Regions from separate parts of the Homo sapiens genome. Here region 1 is linked to region 2. The links are contacts of gene promoters, found by promoter capture Hi-C in human tissues and cell types (Jung and others, 2019). All regions are on one chromosome and are shown on one strand. The core of a region is centred on a gene start or on the middle of the fragment in contact, and the rest is flanking DNA. Distances in the headings are between cores, read along the strand shown. Region 1 overlaps SCAPER (S-phase cyclin A associated protein in the ER). Region 2 holds the start of ETFA (electron transfer flavoprotein subunit alpha).

What was found. The method cuts DNA at HindIII sites, captures the fragments that hold promoters and counts their contacts. A contact is called where the count stands out against the background at its distance.
Region 1: a contact is called between a fragment that was not itself captured here and the fragment with the promoter of ETFA in region 2, in 1 of the 25 tissues and cell types used here (mesenchymal stem cells).

The regions. Positions count from the first base shown.
Region 1 is chr15:76,501,812-76,506,591 of GRCh38, reverse strand. It overlaps SCAPER (S-phase cyclin A associated protein in the ER), which reads left to right. Exons shown (of 32, transcript NM_020843.4): 24 at 1,618-1,733. Among named protein-coding and RNA genes, the nearest start is that of MIR3713, 82 kb to the left of the region's middle. The HindIII fragment of the contact is 4,231 bases long and covers 1-4,171 here.
Region 2 is chr15:76,309,888-76,314,910 of GRCh38, reverse strand. ETFA (electron transfer flavoprotein subunit alpha) reads left to right here and starts at 3,442. Exons shown (of 12, transcript NM_000126.4): 1 at 3,442-3,561. The coding sequence starts at 3,523. RefSeq lists a cis regulatory region at 837-1,258 and enhancers at 2,820-2,869, 2,930-2,979, 3,189-3,689, 3,690-4,190. The HindIII fragment of the contact is 24,969 bases long and covers 1-5,023 here.

The sequences.
Region 1 (4,780 bases), core at 807-3,306, 190 kb before region 2:
ATGTCTTAAAACTTCAATTTTCTCAGAGAAGCCTATCCTGACCCTTTCCCCATTATATAGTTGATTCCCCCATTATTCTCATAGAGAACCTTTTATCTTTCAAGGTACTTATAATTAAAATCACCTTATTTATAACTATCTGATTAGTGTTGGTCCTAGCCACTCATTTTTTTTTCTAATTTTTAATTTTTGTGGGTACATAGTTTATATATGTATTTATGGTATACATGAGATATTTTGATATAGGCATACAATGCTTAATAATCACATCTGAGTAAATGGGGTATCCATCACCTAAAGCATTCATTTTTTGTGTTACAAACAATCCAACTATATTCTTTTAGTTATTTGTAAATGAACAATTAAATTATTATTGATTATATTCACGCTGTTGGGCTATCAAGTACTAGGTCTTATTCTTTCTGACTATTGTTTTGTACCCATTAACTACCCTCACTTCCTTCCCCATTACCCCGTCCCCCCCACTACCCTTCTCAGTCTCTGGTACCCATCCTTCCATTCTCTATCTCCATGAGTTCAATTGTTTTAATGCTTAGCTCCCACAAATAAGTGAGCACATGTGAAGTTCGTCTTACTTCACCTGGCTCATTTCACTTAACATAAGGACCTCCACTTCCATCTATGTTGTTGCAAATAACAGGATCTCATTCCTTTTTATGGCTGAATAGTACTCCATTCCATATATGTACTACGTTTTCTTTATCCACTCATCTCCTGATGGACACTTAGGTTGCTTCCAGTTCTTGGCTATATTGTGAATAGTGCTGTAGTAAATATGGGAGAGCAGATATCTCTTAGATATATGGATCTCCTTTCTTTTGGGCATATACCTACCAGTGGAATTGCTGGGTCATATGGCAGCTCTGTTTTTAGTTTTTTGAAAAATCTCCAAACTATTCTCCATAGTGATTGTACTAATTTACATTCCCACGAACAGTGTATGAGAGTTCCCTCTCCACATCCTCACCAGCATTTGTTACTACCTGTCTTTGGATAAAAGACATTTTAACTGGGGTGAGATGATATCTCACTGTAGTTTTGATTTGCATTTTTCTAATGATCAGTGATGTTGGGCACCTTTTCCTATGCCTGTTTGCCATCTGTATGTCTTCTCTTGAGAAATGTCTATTCAGATTTTTTGCCCATTTTAAAATTGGATTATTAGATTTTTTCCTACAGAGTTGTTTGAGCTCTTATATATTCTGGTTGTTAATCCCTTGTCAGATAGATAGTTTGTAAATATTTTCTCCCATTCTGTGGGTTGTCTCTTTGCTTGGTGGATTGTTTCCTTTGCTGTGCAGAAGCTTTTTAACTTGATGTGATCCCACTTGTCCATTTTTGCTTTGGTTGCCTGTGCTTGCCATCTACCAATTTTAAGCTTCATGGAGGACAGCAACCATATGTTTTATGCTCACTCCTTTTGACCTATATTTCCTAGTACTGAAACAATTAGCAGTGAGTAGCATTCAGCAAATATTTATAAAATAATATTTGTAGAATAGTTGAACCATCAGTATGTTTCAGACTACAGATATCATTTGGTTATAGTTTAATGCCTGGGAAATTGGGCTAACTTCTGTTTGTATTTCTGTCTAGAATGTGGCAGATCAGATTGCATTTCAAGCTGCTGGTGGATTAACAGCCCTTGAACACATCCTTCAAGCAGTAGTCCCAGCCACAAATGTGAACACAGTTTTAAGAATTCCTCCTAAGTAAGTATAGTTTCTTAATCTATTTTTTACGTTTCATTTGTGAGTCATTTCTGCCCTATGGTTTCCATATGGAGAACCACAAGAAAATTGTATGTGTATTCAGGGTTGAATACCAAAATCTTACACTCCCCATTAGGGAGAAAAACAGAGGTGCTCAACGTCACTTACGAAACTCAAATTGAGCCTAAAAAGCCTTATAAAGGAAATCTCTTTGGTCTGTGATGTGCTCTAATCTGAAATCAAGAAGAATTGATGAACTCTTGAGCAATTCTAACTGCTTCCAAAAATTGAGCAAAATAAATAATAGTAACAGAAAGCTAACTTACTGTGTTACATGTGAAAAAAGAGGTGAGTAAGTACATTAGCAAAAGTCTGAGCTGTGAAATTGCAAGAAGTTCCTACCATACAGGAAGAGCAGTCAGAGGCGAAGAGTGCCATAGTCTAGCATCCCAGCCAAATTGCTGGGAACTGAGTTGCACGTTGGTCTTTAACGGTAAATTGCTTTCCTGTTCTCTTAAGTCCCCCTTTAGTCCCTGGCCACCTGGGGTATAGCAGCAATGTTGTTTCAGAAGTATTGTGTTCCTGGGTTGTAACGTCTGCAGTTTCTGGGTATTTTGTGGAGACTCTTATTTACAGAGTTTAAATAAGAGGTTTTAATAAAAGTTCATTTAGGCAGGGCGCAATGGCTCACATCTATGATCCCAGCACTTTGGGAGGTCAAGGCAGGAGGATCACTTGAGGCCAGAAGTTCAAGGCTAGCCTGGGCAATGTAGCGAGACCCCGTCCCTACAAAACATTAACAAATTTAGCCAGGCATAGTGGCACACACCTGTAGTCCCAGCTACTCAGGAGGCTAAGAAAGGAAGGATCACTAGAGCCCAGGAGGTCAAGGCTGCTGTGAACCATGATTGCATCACCACATTCTAGTCTGGGCAACAGAGCAAGACCCTGTCTCAAAAAGAAAAAAAAAAAAGTAAATGCTTCATTTGTCCATTGGATACAACAGGAAAAAAAATTCCAAGAGTATGTTATCTTTTTTTTCTGAGAGGCATTTGTATTAAAAAGAAATAGCATTGGCTTTGGAGTAGGACAAACATGGGTTCTAGTTTTACCTCTGCCAGGCTACTAGCTAAGAAAATTTGAGTGAGTGCCTTAATTTCATTGCATCTGTTTCCTTATTTGGAAAAATAAATGTAATCATATTCACCTCGTGGTGCTACTATGGGACCGGTTGAAATAACATATATGAGACCTCTTTGTAAACTGTTAAGTGTTCATTATAGTGTATATTTGTATATTATAATGTAAAGTTACATTATAAATGTTAAGTGAGAGTTTAGACAGTGCTAGCTACCTGACATGAGATATTTCTAAGTACAAGCTTTTGACATTAAAGATAATTTGGATTCCTTTCCTCTATTCACAAAGATTAATGAAGAATGGTATAGGTATTCTTTAAGTCAGGAAATCTTTCTGTGGAGCAGAAAGCTCCCCATCAGGCAAGTTATAGCATGCATAGTGGTTTTTATAACCCAGAAGGGTTGCTATTCCTTATCAATATGGACTTTATTTACAGGGTGTTGCTGGGCAGGTTATCTTCACTTACTGTATGTTAATTGGCAGGGAGGAAGGTAGAAAGGAAGAAAGGAATGAAATATAATAAATATTTGAAATAAGAAAGGAAATGATATTGATTCTTTGGGAGAGTGCTTTGATAACTGTTAATAATTTATATTGTTCATCTTAAATTCACCTGGAGGTTTTTTGTTTTGTTTTTGTTTTGTTTTGTTTTGTTTTGTTTTCTGGTAGGCTTCAACGTGCATGACACTAAGCTCTCTGATTGGTAACCTGGATTAAATGCCTATTTCCCAAAAGCTGCTATTGTCATTGTGACAGAGTATGTTGTTCTGGTGCTTATCTCTGCCTCTTGTTTAGGAAATGGAAGAGGCGTCCACAGTTCCTATAAAGACCTAAGCAAGAATTAGCACACTTCCTTTGCAAAGGAGCTGTGGAATCTTGAGAGTCCAGACCAGTGCCCTGCAGCTGGTCAGCACTAGCTGACCCACAGGGTCAGGATTAAGAGCTTGTTCCTTCATCTCACTTTAAGCCAATAGATTTGTGTTTTCTTTTCTTTTAAATTATACTTTAAGTTCTAGGGTACATGTGCACAACGTGCAGGTTTGTTACATATGTATACATGTGCCATGTTGGTGTGCTGCACCCATTAACTCATCATTTACATTAGGTATATCCCCTAATGCTATCCCTCCCCCCTCCTCCCACCCCACGACAGGCCCCGGTGTGTGATGTTCCCCACCCTGTGTCCAAGTGTTCTCATTGTTCAATTCCCACCTATGAGTGAGATCATGTGGTGTTTGGTTTTCTATCCTTGCGATAGTTTGCTGAGAATGATGGTTTCCAGCTTCATCTATGTCGCTACAAAGGACATGAACTCATCCTTTTTTATGGCTGCATAGTATTCCACGGTGTATATGTGCCACATTTTTCTTAATCCAGTCTATCATTGATGGACATTTGGGTTGGTTCCAAGAGAGAGTGTGGCGATTCCTCAAGGATCTAGAACTAGAAATACCATTTGACCCAGCCATCCCATTACTGGCTGTATACCCAAAGGATTATAAATCATGCTGCTGTAAAGACACATACACATGTATGTTTATTGTGGCACTATTCACAATAGATTTGTGTTTTCAACTAAGTGCTACTTATTAAGGGAGTCTAGCACCCAGAGCTGTGGGCATCCAGCATTGACTCTAAGATTCTTCTATCCTCAGCACAGTCTCCATATCATAACTCTACTTTCTAAACCAGCTTCAATTTTCAGGGCTAAAGGATTAAAGCCAGGAGAGTGTTATGCTGTTTACTCAGAGAACAGCAAGAGGAATTTTGTAACCACTTCAGATTTAAATGTAGAATAAGAGCATACTGGTGGACATGAGTCAGTGGCTTACTTCAAAAAATACTCTTTCTCATTTTCCTTCCAGTTGCTCTCCTGCACAAATCCCTGCCCAGGCCTTGGGCTTTCC
Region 2 (5,023 bases), core at 2,193-4,692:
TTTTTTTTTTTTTTTTTTGTTTGAGATGGAGTCTTGCTCTGTCATCCGGGCTGGAGTACAGTGGTGTAATCTTGGCTCACTGCAACCTCTGCCTCCCAGGTTCAAGTGATTCTCATGCCTTAGCTGCAGGGGTAGGTGGTATTATAAGAACATGCTACCACACCCGGCTAATTTTTGTATTTTTAGTAGTGAAGGTGGGGGGAGGGTCTCGCCATGTTGACCAGGCTGGTCTTGAACTCCTGACCTCAAGTGATCCGCCCGCCTCGGCCTCCCAAATTGCTAGGATTACAGGTGTGAGCCATTGCACCTAGCCCATTGGACACATATTTCTACAAATGTTTGCTGAACATCTAAAAATAAGAAGCAAATAAATAGGCTGGACACGGTGGCTCACGCCTGTAATCCCAGCACTTTGGGAGGCCACGGCAGGCAGATCACCTGAGGTCAGGGCTTTGAGACCAGCCTGACCAACATGGTGAAACCCCATCTCTACTAAAAATACAAAAATTAGCTGGGCATGGTGGTGGGCACCTGTAATTCCAGCTACTTGGGAGCCTAAGGCAAGAGAATCCATTGAAACTGAGGGGAGGTGGAGGTTGCAGTGAGCCGAGATCGCGCCACTGCACTCCAGCCTGGGTGACAGAGTGAGACTCCGTCTCCAAAATAAATAAAATAAAAATAAGTAAATAAAAGGAAACCATAGGTCCTGCCACCAAAGCGGCTCCTAATGGAGTGGGAAAGTCATATGCCTCTAGGGAAAATCTTCTAATAGAAATGTCTTAGCACACACATTTCTGTGGTACATAACCTGGTTGTGATTGTAGAACCCTGATACATCCCAAAGCCTCAGGGGGCGTTTCATGTGTGATCAGAACAGGTCTGGTCAGGTGTCACAGACTTTGCCCATTTTTAGCCTCTCCCTCTGCTCTGAACTGCTCCACCAGGAACCCCCAGGGGCAACGAGACTCTGGGGTGAACAGCTGCTGCTGATTTGCCCAAGCCTGGGAGCTGTTGAATCTGCCCAGTGGGGGCAGGGCGGGGCAGCCGCTCTCCCCTTGTATTTCGCTTTGTCATGGGTGGGGAGGTAGGGAAGGAGGTTAGTTTGTATCCCAGTTTTTTATATGGTTTTTAGTAAAATATCCTTTTCTGTTTTTACTAAAAGTACCCTTCCCTCTTCCTTCCACTCCCATAGGTCTCAGATTCTAGTCCAGTGTGGGACTGGTTAGGAGGTAAATGCAGTGAGACATGGAATACTAAATTGCCCCTCCCACAGGCAGATTGACTGGGGGACAGGGGTCCACAGCTCTGTCGGCAACATGAGTTCAGACGTGTTCGAAGTGGGTGCAACTTAAGTTTAAGATGGGTCCTCACCTCCTTGTTCATAGAGCTACAAGAGTGAAGAAGAGGAAAGGATTAATTCATCCTGCAGAATTGAGAAAGAGCTTACAAAAGAAATGTCACTTGGGCCAGGCGTGGTGGCTCATGTCTGTAATCCCAGTACTTTGAGAGGCCAAGGTGGGAAGATCACTTGAGGCCAGGAGTTCGAGACCAGCCCTGGGTAACCCTGCCCCTACAAAAAAAAATAGCTGGGCATGGTGGCACATGACTGTAGTCCCAGCTACTTGGGAGGCTGAGGCAGGAAGATTGCTTGATCCCAGGAGTTCGAGACTGCAGTGAGCTGTGATGGCACCACCGCACTCCAGCCTGGGAAACAGAGTGAGACCTTGTCTTAAACAGAACAAAAGAATTGTCACTTGATCTGGGTTTTAAAGAGGGCTGTCAGATGGGGAAGGGAATTTCAGACAGAGGGAAGAGCAAAAGCGCAAGGCCCTTAGAGTGCTTGTTAGTTCAGACAAAGCTCTTGCTTCAGGGAATTTACACTCCAATGCAGTGAGATCAGCAATAAACAAACATGTGCATCCTGTTAGGCAGTGATAAATGCCAAGAAAAAAAATCAAACAAGGTGATAGGGCGTCTGGGAGTGGCATGGGTGCTATTTTAGGTGGAGAGGCTAAGGCCGGCCTTTCTGCAAATGTGTTTTTTGAGCAGAGACCTGAATGAAGTGAGGAAGTACGCCACGCGGGTAACAAGAGAAGGCCATTTCAGGCAGAGGGAAGAGCCAGAGTGCAAAACTCTGAGAGGAGCAGGCTTGTGTGCTCAAGAAGGCCTATGTATCTGGGGAACAGTGAGAGAAGAGGGCAGTGGGAGGAGAGGGAGCCACCATAGGGCTTTGAGCAGAGGTCATGATCAGTCCATCAGTTTGGAGAAGAGGCTTCTGGAAACATGGGCAGAAACAGAAAGACCAGTTAGGAGGCTTTGCAATGATCCAGGCGAGAGAGGACAGGGTCCTGAGTGAAGGTGATACCAGCAGAGGAGCAAAGGGGTGTTGGAGGATATTGCTGGATTCTGGTTATCTTTTGAAGGTAGAGTCAACGGGATTTGTTGATAGACTAGATAACATTGGAAAGGTAGGTTGTTGCTGAATTGGGAATTGAGACAATTTCTGAACATACCACTTCCCTCTTAAAAATTTCGTGTTAAAGTCCAGACTCATTAGCAGTCATTTATTCATTTGCTTATTCATTCAACACATACTGATTGAATGCCTAGTATGGACCAGGCATTGTGCTAGGTGTTGCAGGTAGACACAAAATTTAAAAGTAGGGCATACTGGCCGGGCGCGGTGGCTCACGCCTGTAATCCCAGCACTTTGGGAGTCCGAGGCGGGCGGATCACGAGGTCAGGAGATCGAGACCATCCTGCCTAACACTGTGAAACCCCGTCTCTACTAAAAATACAAAAAAATTAGCTGGGCGTGGTGGCGGGCGCCTGTAGTCCCAGCTACTCGGGAGGCTGAGGCAGAAGAATGGAGTGAACCCGGGAGGCGGAGCTTTCAGTGAGCTGAGCTCGCGCCACTGCACTCCAGCCAGGGTGACAGAGGGAGACTCTCTCTCTCTCAAAAAAAAAAAAAAAAAAAAGGGCATACTTTCTGCCCTTACAGATCTTCAGTCAGATGGGTGACACAGACAAGTACTTAGGTTATTACAACCCATGTGACAATTGCTACCATGGGGAAATACAGGGGGAAATAGGGGCATATAGGAAAGGTATCTAATTGGAATTGGCAAGGCTCCACTCGTACCTTACCCCGAGGTCAGCTCAGTTTTGAAGTTCACTCTAGCAGTGCTGACCATTGCGGGGCTGTGAGACAGTACAGTCTGAGCTCGGTCATCAGCGGGTGGCCAGCTTTGTCTCTGCCGCTCCGCGGCCCGGGCTTACTCGAAGGTCCCCGGGGAATAGCCTCACCTTTGCCCCACTTCCCAGTCTAGCCCCTAACTTCCCGCCGTCTATTGGCTGCGCAGCCGCCCAATGGGCAGGCGGAAACCGCGGGCTCGTGCTCCCGGCCTAGGGCGTCTTATCTCGTTCGCGCGTCTCGCGAGCATTAGGTGACTGGCTGAGGCGGCGCCAGTTGGCCGGGCACGGGGCTGCTGTAAGGCCGAGGTTGCGGCGGAAGCGGAGACCATGTTCCGAGCGGCGGCTCCGGGGCAGCTCCGGCGGGCGGTGAGTCCGGACTGGGAAGGCGAACCCAGGGACGGCCCCCCGTCAACCCGCCGTCCCTATGGGGTCTTGCAAAGATCACTGGCCCCCTCAGATTCGACCAGCCCTCGCGCCCGCAGGCCGGTCCCCGCCTGGGACTTGGGTCCAAAGTTCTGGGGCCTACCCTGGACTCCCTGCGGAACGCCAGTTCGGGGCAGAAGTCAGAGGTTTGGGGTCAGGGTGACCCCGAATGATGTGAATTTGCGCGTCTGCTGCCCCTTCTTCTGGCCCACTCTCTGCCCTGCCGTTTCCCACCTTTGTCGGTCACTCTGGGCACTTTCGGGCCGCCAGGTCCTCCACACTTGCTCCACACCCGAGGGAGCAAAATGTCACCGGGGAATGCCCTGTTGGGGAAAGTTTCAAACCTAGATTCCTCCCGGAGGCCGGCATTTCTGGAAGAATTAAACACTTTGGGCGCATCGTGGCTACTCCGACCCACTCACTGTCAAGGGCGGGGGTGGGGTGGGGTGGGAGGCTGCGTGGCCAGTTATGGAAGCTGGTTCTGCTTTCTGGTTTATGGAGCAGGGCTGAATTTAGGTGATTGTATTTGTAAAACCTGCGATCCGATTTGACAGCTTTAGCCAGTTTTGAAAGGCAGACGTCTTTTTATATGCTTCAGGCTGACCTGCTTTTAACCAGCAGATTGTAGATTAGGTTAACTGGTGACAGTGGTACATTTTCAGTGTTTCATTAGTGACAAACCACATTTCTCTCTTCTGTTGTGAGAAGGACTGATAGGAAACATATTTTCCTTCTCATGCTGTGGGAAAGGAGTATTTGGAGACTGACCAGTCACAAGTCAAGTAACAATAATTTATATTGTGGATTGTGTAGTTTTCCTAGTTTACATTTAGGTGAAATGAGAAACAAGATTGGTAAACTTGGGTCAGAAACTTACCTGATGGTTTGTACCTTTTCTCCTTTTTTTTTTTTTTTTTTTTTTTCTGGGCATGGATATTTTCCCATCCACTCCTGGGATTTTTCTCTCTGAGGCATAGCTGGAGCTCTTTCTAGATGTCTGTAGACATTAGACTTTTGTTTGTTTGTTTGTTTGTTTGTTTAAGAGACAAGGTCTGGCTCTGTTTCCCATGCTGGAGTGGAGTGCAGTGGCACGATATGGGCTCACTGCAACCGTCGCCTCCCAGGTTCAAGCGATTCTCCCACCTCAGCTTCCCGAGAAGCTGGGATCACAGGTGCGCATCATCACGCCTGGCTAATTTTTTTTTTTTTTTTTTTTTTTTTTTTGTAGAGACGGGGTTTCCCCATGTTACCCAGGCTGGTCTCGAACTCTTGTCCTCAAGTGATCCACCTGCCTCGGCCTCCCAAAGTCCTGGAATTACAGGCCTGAGCTACCGCACCTGGCCTTAGACATCTTTTTTCTTGTGCGTATTCCTTGTTTAATAAAAAGTTCTGACCCTCCCCTCCC